Linked DNA regions of Homo sapiens: all the other regions are linked to region 4. The links are contacts of gene promoters, found by promoter capture Hi-C in human tissues and cell types (Jung and others, 2019). All regions are on one chromosome and are shown on one strand. The core of a region is centred on a gene start or on the middle of the fragment in contact, and the rest is flanking DNA. Distances in the headings are between cores, read along the strand shown. Region 1 has its middle 43 kb from the start of LINC03086. Region 2 overlaps LINC03086 (long intergenic non-protein coding RNA 3086). Region 3 holds the start of TMC2 (transmembrane channel like 2). Region 4 holds the start of TGM6 (transglutaminase 6).

Region 1 (2,700 bases), core at 134-2,633, 130 kb after region 4:
ACCCAATGAGAACATCTAGAAGATAAAGAGCCTATTCTTTTTTTGTCATCAATTTTATAAACAGCTTCCAGGCTGTGAAATTAAAGGGGACATAGAAGAGATGTTTTTTCTTAATTTTTTAAAATATCATCCACAGACTCAGCAGGTGAAAGAGATGTTTTTTGAGGCAACTTCTCAGTGTTCACTAGACTCTAACCTCCTCTCTCCGATTAACACAATCGGTCTGCGAAGCCCATCCATTTCAATAAAACTCAGTGAACATTAGCTGGACCTTGAAGGTGCTCAGCTAGGCATTGCACAGAGTAGAGCATAAATGAGCTACAGTACCTGCCTTTGAAGTAAAATAAGCATGTTCACCACCTCAGCCCAAAGCCAGGCTAGATAGCTGTCACGGAGGAAAGGTGCAAACTCTCACAAGGGTAGAAGGGAGAGCAGGATGGCCAGAGAACTTAAGGCTGGAAGGAGAATGAGCTGCTGGACCCTAAAGAACAGTCTGGGTTGGGTACAGTGGTTCAAGTCTGTAATTCTAGCACTTAGGGAGGCCAAGGCAGGAGGATCACTTGAGCCCAGGAGTTTGAGACCAGCCGGGGCAAGATAGTGAGACCCCGTCTCTACAAAAATAAAAAAATTAGTGTCCCCTGTGGTGGTGTGTGCCTGGAGTCCCAGCTACCTGGGAGGCTGAGGTGGGAAGATTGCTTAAGCCCAGGAGTTCAAGGCAACAGTGAGCTATGATTGCACCACAGGACTCTGGCCTGGGAAACAGACCAAGACCCTATCTCTAAAGAAAAAGAACAAGCTGATTGTCCATAATGAGATGCAACAGCATGGCTTACTTTGGAGAATTTTCCAAAAGCCAGATCATTTGTTTGTCTTTTTTAAAAAAAATCCGTTTTAAGAATAAATGTACTTAACAGGAGATTACCAGGAAATGTTGGCTTTCACTCATTTTCTTCAAGGGACACTTAGAATTTACTGAAAATAGCACAAGAACAAAATGAGGCCAGTTGCAGTGGCTCACGCCTGTAATCTCAACACTTTGGGAGGCTGGGGCATGTGGATCAACTGAGGTCAGGAGTTCAAGACCAGCCTGGACAACATGGCGAAACCTCATCTCTACCAAAAATACAAAAATTAGCTGGGCATGGTGGCGGACATCTGTATTTCCCAGCTACTTGGGAGGTTGAGGCAGGAGAATTGCTTGAACTCAGGAGGCAGAGGTTGCAGTGAGCCGAGATTGTGCCACTGCACTCCAGCCTGGGCAATGAAGTGAGACTCTGTCTCAAAAAGAAAAAAAAAAAAAAAAAAAGCAAATGAGCTGGGATTCCAAATAAATGGGTTCTATTTCTAAGACTATGAAACTTTAGTTAGCTGGGCCTTGATTTCATCATCTGAAAAATAAAAGAGATGGTGCTAAATCAGTGGTTTTCACTTGTGCTTCATGGAACCTCAAGAGTATGGGGAAGCAGGGTATGACCCCAGACCCACTAGGCTCACAGTAGCTCAATTTCTGAGTCTTAATTGGGCTTCTAAGCAAGGCTTCATTTTGAATAAAGAATTTTGCTATTTTGAAAAGTTAAAATAGGCTGGGTGTAGTGGCTTATGCCTATAATCCCAATGATTTGGGTGGTTGAGGCAGGGGGACTGCATGAACCCAGGAGTTTGAAACCGGTCTGGGCAGCATAGCTAGATCCCATCTCCGAAAAAAAAAGAAAAGAAAGAAAGAGAGAGAGAGAGAAAGGAAGAAAGAAATAAAGAAAGGAAGAAAGAAAGAAAGAGAAAGAAAGAGAAGGCGAGAGAAAGGAAGAAAGAAAGAAAGGAAGGAAGAAAGAAAGAAAAAGAAAGAAAGAAAGAGAAAGCGAGAGAAAGAAAGAAAATAGGGTTTGCAGCCAGGTGCGGTGGCTCATGCCTGTAATCCCACACTCTGGGAGGCCAAGGTGGGTGGATCACCTGAGGTCAGTAGTTTGAGACCAGCCTGGCCAGCTTGGTGAAACCCAGTCTCTACTAAAAAATACAAACGTTAACTGCGCCTGGTGGTGAGTGACTGTAATCCCAGCTACTCGGGAGGCTGAGGCTGGAGAATCGCTTGAACCTGGGAGGTGGAGGTTGCAGTGAGCCAAGATCTTGCCACTGCACTCCAGCCTGGGCGACAGAGCGAGACTCCGTCTCAAAAAACAAAAACAAAAACATAGGGTTTGCTGAATACTTTGGTGGGGTTGTCTTGCATCCAGAGTCTGGGACTAGAATGATCTCCTCAAAGTACAAGTTCAGGGCATTCCATGATTTTGTGTATTTATTTTTACTTCTTATGACATTATTATACAACAATTTATTTTCTCTACAATGTTTTTAAAATCCTCAGACAACGTTTTCTTCTTTTCCTTTTCAGCCTCACTCTTTTTTTGTGTTATTTTTCTCTTTTCTTCTCTATTTTCCATTCACTTTCCTTTCTTTTTAGATGTGTGTGTAGAAGGCCAGGCACGGTGGCTCATGCCTGTAATCCCAGCAATTTGGGAGGCTGAGACAGGCAGATAGCTTGAGCTCAGGAGTTCGAGCCCAGCCTGGCCAATATGGTGAAACCCTTTCTCTACTAAAAATACAAAAAATATGCATGTTGGTGCGCATGTGCAATCCCAGCTACTCAGGAGGCTGAGGCACAAGAACCTGGGAGACAGAGGTTGCAGTGAGCCGAGATCGAGCCTC
Region 2 (2,500 bases), core at 1-2,500, 170 kb after region 4:
CGAGGCTACAGTGAGCTGTGACTGTGCCACTGCACTCCAGCCTGGACAACAGGGTGAGACCCTGTCTCCAAAACAAACAAACAAAAAACAAAGGGCCAGGCACAGTGGCTCACACCTGCAATCCCGGCACTTTGGGAAGCAGCCAAGGCGGGCAGATTTGAGATTAGGAGTTCAAGACCAGACTGGCCAACATGGTGAAACCCCATCTCTACTAAAAAATACAAAAATTTAGCCGGTCATGGTGGTGCATGCCTGTAACTACTTGGGAAGCTGAGGCACAAGAGTTGCTTGAGCCGGGGAGGCAGAGGTTGCAGGTTGCAGTAAGCCAAGATCATGCCACTGCACTCCAGCCTGGGTGACAGAGCGAGACTGTCTCAAAAAAAAAAAAAAAAAAAAAGAGAGAGAGAGAGAAAGAGAAGAATATGGTGAATATGATGTTCTTGCCAATGGAAGAAGTCAGTCCAGGAGCCCAAGTCTGGGAATCCATAACAGGGGCCGGATTACACTGCAAGCAATAATGAATGTAGCTGCCAACATACATTTTATTTCCAACTGAGAAATAAGAAGGCCTCAGAGGGGAAAATTCACTTTCCCAGACTTTTTAGTGGGGTGGAGGGGTAGAATCATTCTCATTTGACCCCCGTACATCTTGACATTTCTACTTATTAGAAATTAAAGTATAAATTAAGAAGCTTACTCTCCCTTCTCAGAATCCCATAGCTTCTCATCTGTAACTTCCTCAAAGCACCTGCCACCTTCTCCTACTACCCTGGAGAGTTGCTGACAGATGCTAATTTAGTTTTACTAAATATATTACCTTACCGGAAAGGCTAAACATGCATAATAGATAATACCAGCTACCCTTTGTTGAAAGAGGCTTACAGATGGATGAGGAAACAGTGACCTGCCCAAGTAGCATTATCAAGACCAAAATCCACCTGACTCACAGCCCAGTGGTCTTTTAAGGACACGATCCTGCCTCTTCTACAGAACCATGTAAGACGCTGAAAAACTTTGGGAAATAAAAGGAGAAATGCAGGCAAATGTTTCTGTAATCCAGCCAGAGACTAAGAGTCCTTGTAGCAGGACAAGTGCAATCCTTTCCAACCTCACAAGGCAAACAGACGATAATAGTTGTCAAAAGACAAAAATTACAAGAAATTTAGTTTAAAATCTTAATTGGCTTATATTTGCATTCTAGAATCAGCCGATGCCTCGTTCTATAAAACAGAATGAGTGCTCTGATGAGCTGAGCTGAGGAGGCTGGCTTTATAGACAGAAAAGGGCTGAAGAAAGCAGAAACACAGAACAAAAAGCGAATTGGTTGTTTCAAAGTTATTTTCCTTGTAAAGGTTAAAGCAGAGAGGACTTCCTCATCATGCCAGCTAAAGCTGGTTTACTTGGGCATTTGGCTATATTAACTGTCTCTCTCTCCTAATTTCTAGGAAAGTCAAATAAGCAACTTAGTTTCAGCTTGGTGGCACGGAACTTCAGCATAAGTGACTCCATGTTGGGTTGATCTGTTGGGCATAGTGCAGGAGCTCAGTCCAAACCAATAGCCTCTTATAAATTTTATTTAACATAGTGATAACAACAATATGACCATGGTAATAATAGAGGCAGCTTACTATGTGCCTGGCACCATTCTAGGGACTTCACAATCTTTTTTTTAATGTCCTAAGTTCTTGAAGGCAAGGGGCTTTACAAATATTAACTACTGTAATTATTATAACGGTATTAAGTGGGTACTATTATTATCCCCACTTTTTAATGAGGCAAGGTTGAGAGGTCAACTAACTTGCCCCAGGCAAGCCCATGAGCACTTCCCACGTGCTAGAAACTAAGTCCAGAAATTGTACTAAGTACGATTAACTCGTTTAATACTCAAAGCAATCCCAAGATACCTGCTATCATTATCAGCACTTTCAGAGGGAACCAACAGAGCTCAAGGCAGCCTGAACCCGGAGCCCGCGCTTAGCCACCAGCTGCGTGGCTGCGGGCAGGGCGAGCTGACCCAGGCTGGGTGCGCGTGGGGCGGGGGCTGGGTAGAGATCTGTTCGCTCGAGTCCTCAGCAAGGGCCGCACTGGACGTCAGCTCTGAGTGTGACCAAGGCCCCCGGCTTCTCCAGATCTGGACGCCCCAGCCCGGGAGCTCCGTGCCAGCGAGCCTCTGAGCATCGCGGGCCGCTACTGCCCCCTGCCGCCGCCCGGGCCTTGCAGGGAGAGCTTGCCCGGAGCAGAGGCGCACGGCCACCGGGCCCCGGCAGCTCCCAGCCACGACCACCCAGAGACCCCGCAGAGGAAGCGGAAGCCGCCGCCCGGCACTTTCTGAATTCCCCTCTCCGCCCTCAGGTCCCTGCGGCCTCCCGTCACCTGCGTCACTTCTCGTGGGCTGGCGGATAGAGCCCGGCGGCTCCCCCACCCACTCGGCTCGCAGCCCACGCTCCCGACGCCCGAGTTGCCATGGTGAAGGACGCGGGAGAAACGCCGGAAGGGGCAC
Region 3 (2,700 bases), core at 93-2,592, 160 kb before region 4:
CATCCATAATATTTTGTGACATGAAGATGCCCAGCCTGTGAGTGTGGCTTCTGCCCCTCTCCCCTGAACCCTCAGTCTCAACCAAGGGTTTTCTCTCCCGCCTATGGCTTCCTTGGGCTCTCCCACTTCTCCTGGAGCAAGTTGGCTCCCTCACCGGCTCACGGGAGAGCTGTGGTCACATTCCCAGTGGGAAGGTGATGGAGCACCCATTATGCCTACTACTTTTTGGAGGTTAAGAGTGTTCCTCCTAGAGTCCGGGGGCCTGGATGTGAATCTGGCCACACCACCCGCCAGAAGCCTGCACCGAGCTTCCCTGCCCTCTGTCTGGTGAATGTTCACTGCTTCCCAAGGCTCAGCTCAGAGTGTCACTAACCCTGGGAGTCTCCCCTGACACCGAGGGCTGAGCAGCACCTTCTCTGAGTGGTACTCTGCCCCCTCCCATGTTAAACACCTTGCCTCCCAGGAAGGCTCCATGCAGGGTGTTGAATGAGAGGGAAGGAGATGAAGGAGAATGTTGGATGGGTGGCTGGACTGTTGGGCTAAGCAGAGGGCACCCAGGCACTGCAGGCTCCCCAGAGACCCCACCACCCCATCTCACCTGTGTGTGGAGAGCCGCTCTTCACCCGCCCTTTCACTCCGCCTCGTGCTGTAAGAGACAGGATTGCTGACAAATGGCTGGCCTCTGGTGAGTCCCCCTCCCTGCAGACCCCCGGTCACTGTGGGACCCCTCAGCTGATTTGTGGCTGCCTCAAACTGGGACCCAGCTCCAATGATTTTACTCAGCAAATTATAGAGTCCCCTGCCTGTCACATTTGTCTGATACTGTCAGTCATGAGGTCAGAACATCCCCCACCCCCTGCCCTGCACAGAGACAGAGACAGATAGAAATCTGCTGAGGGGCTTGCTCGGAACAGGCAACCCTAACCGAGACAATAGGTGGCTGAGACGCCCCAGCAGGCTCTGAGGAGCATGCATCGGCCGTGACAGTCTCCAGTGCTGGCCTGAACACAGGTGCTGTGCACAGGTTGTCTTGAATCCTTCCAGTAGCCCTGCAAGGAGGTGATGACTACCCCCATCTCATGCGTGAGGATCAGAGAGGTTGAATAACCAGCCGAGGTCGCTCAGCGCACAGGGGACAGGCCCTGGACTCAAACCCAGCTCCTCCCTATGCCTCTGAACACCATATGTGCTTCCCCCATCCCCTGCTGCTGCCCAGGAACCCTGTGGGCGGGCCCCGCAGGATCAGGACGTGGACTCACCTTCCTCTTTCAGGCCCTTTACCTGGTGGCTCATGGTCAGCAGCACTGCTGGGGTCCTGCACAGGCTCACGCAGCGTGCTCCTGTATGCACGCCTTCAGCCTGGGCTGCTTTCCTGCCCTCATGGTGGCTGGCCTCCCTTCCTAGACCTGACAGCAGGCGGGGCTTCTTGGTTTGAGATTGAATGTGGAGGTGGGTGAAGTTTGGGGGAGAGAGACGGGTGAAGGAAGGCGACGAGTTCCCGGCCCATCAATCCGGCCACACACTCCTCTTCTCAGGTTTCCCTGCAAAGAGGCAGCATGGCCTCATGTTTCAGGCATCAGTTATACATGAGGGGCCCTGGAGGGGCCAGGAGCTGCAGGCTTATCTCCTGGCAATGATGCCGCTGGCACTCTAGCCAGAGGAGGTGTGAGGAGCATCCCAGGCCCTCTCCCACTATCTTGAGTCCCTGATTGGGACAAAGCACCAGGGAAATTCTAGAATGTTTGTTTAAGTTATTACTTGGGCTTCTGTTTAAAATGCAGATTCTGGCATGTGGTGGTTCACACCTGTAATCTCAGCACTTAGGAAGGCAGAGGCAGGAGGATTGCTTGAGCCCAAGAGCTCAAGACCAGCCTGTGCAACGTAGTGAGACCCCATCTCCACAAAAAGAAAAATAATAATAATAAATTTTTAAAAATAAAATGCATACTCCCAGGAGTGGCACTGGGCGTTGGAATCAGTCAGTCTGTGCCAGGCCCTGGGAGCCTGCACTGTGGATCCTGCTGCAGGCGTCCTGAGCCCACACAGATGAATGTTCCCGCTCAGCCCCCGCCCCCTCCCTCAGCAGCTTTTCCTCCCTGGCTTCAGGGAGGCACAGATTTGGCTGCTTTGAAAACCATCACTAAAGTGTCAGAGGGACCCTCTGGAAGGCAGTCATAAGGTCTCAGAGTGTGGAGTTCTTAATCTGGAGTCCCTGGAACCCCCAGAGCTGTGGATGGAATTCTGTGGGTTTGTGAATAGTGATGGAGAAAATACTACACTTTCACTTTTCCTAGCCTTAACTGCGATTTAGCATTTCCCTCAATCATGAATGTAAGCAAAGATGTGATTTTTGTCTCAGCAAAAGTCACAGTTATTTTTTTTCCCAATTAAACCACTGGGGATGTCTCAAAATATCTTACATGTTATCACAACTTCAAAATTATGATAGTTAGAGACCTGCCATGAAATCTTGTTATTTAATTAGGAAGCATATATTGTCATTATATGAAAGATATTTAAAGTGATTTTGATGCCTATTTCAGGATCATTGGTCTCCTTTGTAATCCTAGTGTTTTATTTTATGGATTTAATGTCTATGTTCTGAAAAGCGGTCTGTGGCTGGGCGTGGTGGTTCACGCCTGTAATCCCAGAATTTTGGGAGGCCAAGGCAGACGGATCACCTAGGGTTGGGAGTTCCGG
Region 4 (2,700 bases), core at 149-2,648:
GTGAGCTGGTGTTGGCAAGGCCTGGTCTTCAGAACAGACCTATCCTAGGAGCCTGAAGGGCCCAACACGTCCAGCAATGCTGTTAACTGCCAGGAGGAAATATGAAGAGGAAGCTAGACTATGATGAGGAAATTCAAATATCTGCCTTTGAAAGTTAAAAAAATATTTGATTCATAAAACTGTCACATAATGCTGAACAATTAAAACTGGCAGACACAGACTCAGAAACACCCCTTGAATACCTGTGAGTGTAGGACCCCTGGTTCTGCTGACTTGCTCATTACCGGGCCCCAGCATCTAAGACAAGTTCTTGCAGAGGGAGTTTGCTGCTCACTATATTGAGGTCGTGGGGGACACATTATCTTACTTTCTTTTTTTTTTGAGACAGGGTCTCACTCTGTTGCCCAGCCTGCAGTGCAGTGGCACCATCTTGGCTCACTGTAGCCTCTACCTCCTAAGCTCAAGCGATCCTCTCACCTCAGCCTCCCAAGTAGCTGGGACTTTGGGTGTTCCCCACCATGCCTAGCTAATTGTTGTATTTTTTTGTAGAGACGGGGTTTTGCCACATTGCCCAGGCTGGTCTCAAACTCCTGAGCTCAAGAATTCCACCCCCTTCAGCCTCCCAAAATGCTGGGATTAGAGGCGTGAGCCACTGTGCCCGACCCACATTTTCTGAGTCTACTGTTTACAAGTCCCCACTTGAGATGTGTGGTGGGAGAACAGCACACGTGGTCTCACCAACTCCTCACAGCAAGGCTGTGAGATAATTTGCATTATAATCCCCATTACACAGATCAGAAAACAGAGGTACCAAGGGCAAATTTTCTTGCTCAAGGTCATATAGCTGTTTTCACTTGAGCCAGAGCTGCTCTTGCCCTCAAGTGCTTGGGGTGGGAATCAGGCGAGGATGCAGCCGGTGGGGGCCTCTCACTCCTTCCCACGCAGGCCACAATTCCCAACTATGCCCAGAAACGTCTCTGGATCCATGGAATGTGCATGGGGTGCAAGGAGATTTTCTTTTTTCTGCCCCTGCCTTCCTGTGCCTGCCTCCTTCAGTCCTCCGAGGCACAGGGGTGAGACCTGGCCCCAGCCCAGGAGACAGCGCCTGAGCCAGCCTGGGCCATGGCCTTGCTGGGTGGCTTAAAGCTGGCTTTTTCATCCTGGGCCTCATGAATCCACACGAAGAGTTCATGTGTTCATGGTGGACTATCCAGCTGTAAAATCCTAACAATCGATGATCAAACGTCATCCCACAGACCCGTGTTTCTTGAAGCCCCCCTCATGAGCCCTGGTGTCCCAAGGCCCCAGGCTCTGCCCACTTACCTGCCATGTGAAGGCCAGCTGGACTCCTCTGTTCCTCCACACAGCAGTGTGTGCACCGTCAGGACAGTGTGGCGCGTCACAGCAGCCAGCCAGACCAATTTTAACAAGGAAAACCTTGGGACACTCCTAGGCAGGAAAGTCAGAATTCAAAAGAGGAGGCGTGGCCCTCCACCCTAGCAGCGACACCCACGAGACACAAAATCATCCTGTAATTGCACCTAGAGGGGTTCACTGTGGGAGTGGCTCCTGCCAAGAGACCTTGGAAACACGGAGTTGCGAATGGGACTGTGGAGAAACTGAGGCTCAGAAAGGTCACAAGCCTGGCAAGAAAAAGAACGGGGAAAGAGAGAAGACTGAGGGAACTCGGATTTATGGTTGGCCATTCTTAGCCCTCACAACAACCCTCAAATGAGAAAAAACAGGCTCAGCGCCAGGACCCCGAAGTACATGGTTGCACGCTGCAGTGCCGGGTCAGTCTGTGGCTCCCTCTCCCCTCCTGGGTGAGAGCAGAAGACTCCTGGGCCCACAGCTCCACTCTGTTCTGCAGGCATCTAAAGAGGCAGAGGTCCATGATCCTCCTTCAGGGCCACTAGACTTCCTTGGTGGACACTAGACTCTTGAGAGGAGGTAGATAAGAAAAAGGGGAGAGCTGGTTCTGACTCAGAAGCTAGGCCCATCTGCCCTGACTTTGTGAGTGGCCTCCAGCCAGGAGCTTAGAGGCCTGGTGGCCATGGGTGTCCCGTGACCTTGGACAAGACCTCTCCCCTCCTGGAACCCTGGTGTTTCTACCTACAAACTAAAGGGATTGGACTCAATTATTCTTCAGGGCCATTCCAGCTCAAAGTCTAAGATTCTGGGCTTGAAGGTGCTGGAATTCAAGGCATCTGAGGTCTTTTGTTAATGAAATAGAGGGGATTTTATTTTCATGGAAGCCGGTGGGGTAGGTTTCTTTTTGCCGGAGAAATGCTTTGATGGATGACTTGGGGCTATCGAAGGCTGGATGTGGCCTGGGCCAGTGAGGAAGGGGAAGTGGGAGGGGGTAGAATCGAGGGAAAGAGACAAGGAAGGGTAAGGAGACAACCGTGTGCTGAGCACAGTAGGATGAGGCCGCTCCCTGGGATCACCCCAACATTCAGGAAACTGCATAAAAACCCCAAAGTGTTTGATGTGGTTGGATTTCTTACAGAAAGTGGCAAAGAGGCTGAGTTCTGCTTCCTGGTTTCACGCAGATCAAGCGTCTTTAATGAGCTGTCTGCAGACCCACATAGCCTTATAATTACTGACATCTGGCAGCAGCCCAGGGCAGCTCCTTCCTCAACACCCTGCAGGCTGCTGCCCTGTAGACCCTGGGCCCTGCTGAAGCTGCTTTTCTGCCTA

What was found. Contacts are between HindIII fragments. The study calls those that stand out against the background at their distance.
Region 1: a contact is called between a fragment that was not itself captured here and the fragment with the promoter of TGM6 in region 4, in 4 of the 25 tissues and cell types used here (heart left ventricle, liver, mesendoderm cells and 1 more).
Region 2: a contact is called between a fragment that was not itself captured here and the fragment with the promoter of TGM6 in region 4, in 2 of the 25 tissues and cell types used here (IMR-90 fibroblasts and mesendoderm cells).
Region 3: the fragment with the promoter of TMC2 here is called in contact with the fragment with the promoter of TGM6 in region 4 in 1 of the 25 tissues and cell types used here (mesendoderm cells).

What each region holds. Positions count from the first base shown.
Region 1 is chr20:2,248,140-2,250,839 of GRCh38, reverse strand. No RefSeq gene overlaps it. Among named protein-coding and RNA genes, the nearest start is that of LINC03086, 43 kb to the right of the region's middle. The HindIII fragment of the contact is 7,144 bases long and covers 1-2,700 here.
Region 2 is chr20:2,207,393-2,209,892 of GRCh38, reverse strand. LINC03086 (long intergenic non-protein coding RNA 3086) reads right to left here. Exons shown (of 2, transcript NR_161305.1): 1 at 2,374-2,500. Among named protein-coding and RNA genes, the nearest start is that of LINC03086, 1.7 kb to the right of the region's middle. RefSeq lists an enhancer at 2,374-2,500. The HindIII fragment of the contact is 5,318 bases long and covers 1-2,500 here.
Region 3 is chr20:2,535,215-2,537,914 of GRCh38, reverse strand. TMC2 (transmembrane channel like 2) reads right to left here and starts at 1,342. Exons shown (of 20, transcript NM_080751.3): 1 at 1,260-1,342; 2 at 599-646. The coding sequence starts at 1,293. The region is part of intron 2 of LOC105372504 (a long non-coding RNA gene); the gene reads left to right. The HindIII fragment of the contact is 10,824 bases long and covers 1-2,700 here.
Region 4 is chr20:2,379,599-2,382,298 of GRCh38, reverse strand. It overlaps TGM6 (transglutaminase 6), which reads right to left and starts at 1,398. Exons shown (of 13, transcript NM_198994.3): 1 at 1,324-1,398. The coding sequence starts at 1,330. The HindIII fragment of the contact is 30,296 bases long and covers 1-2,700 here.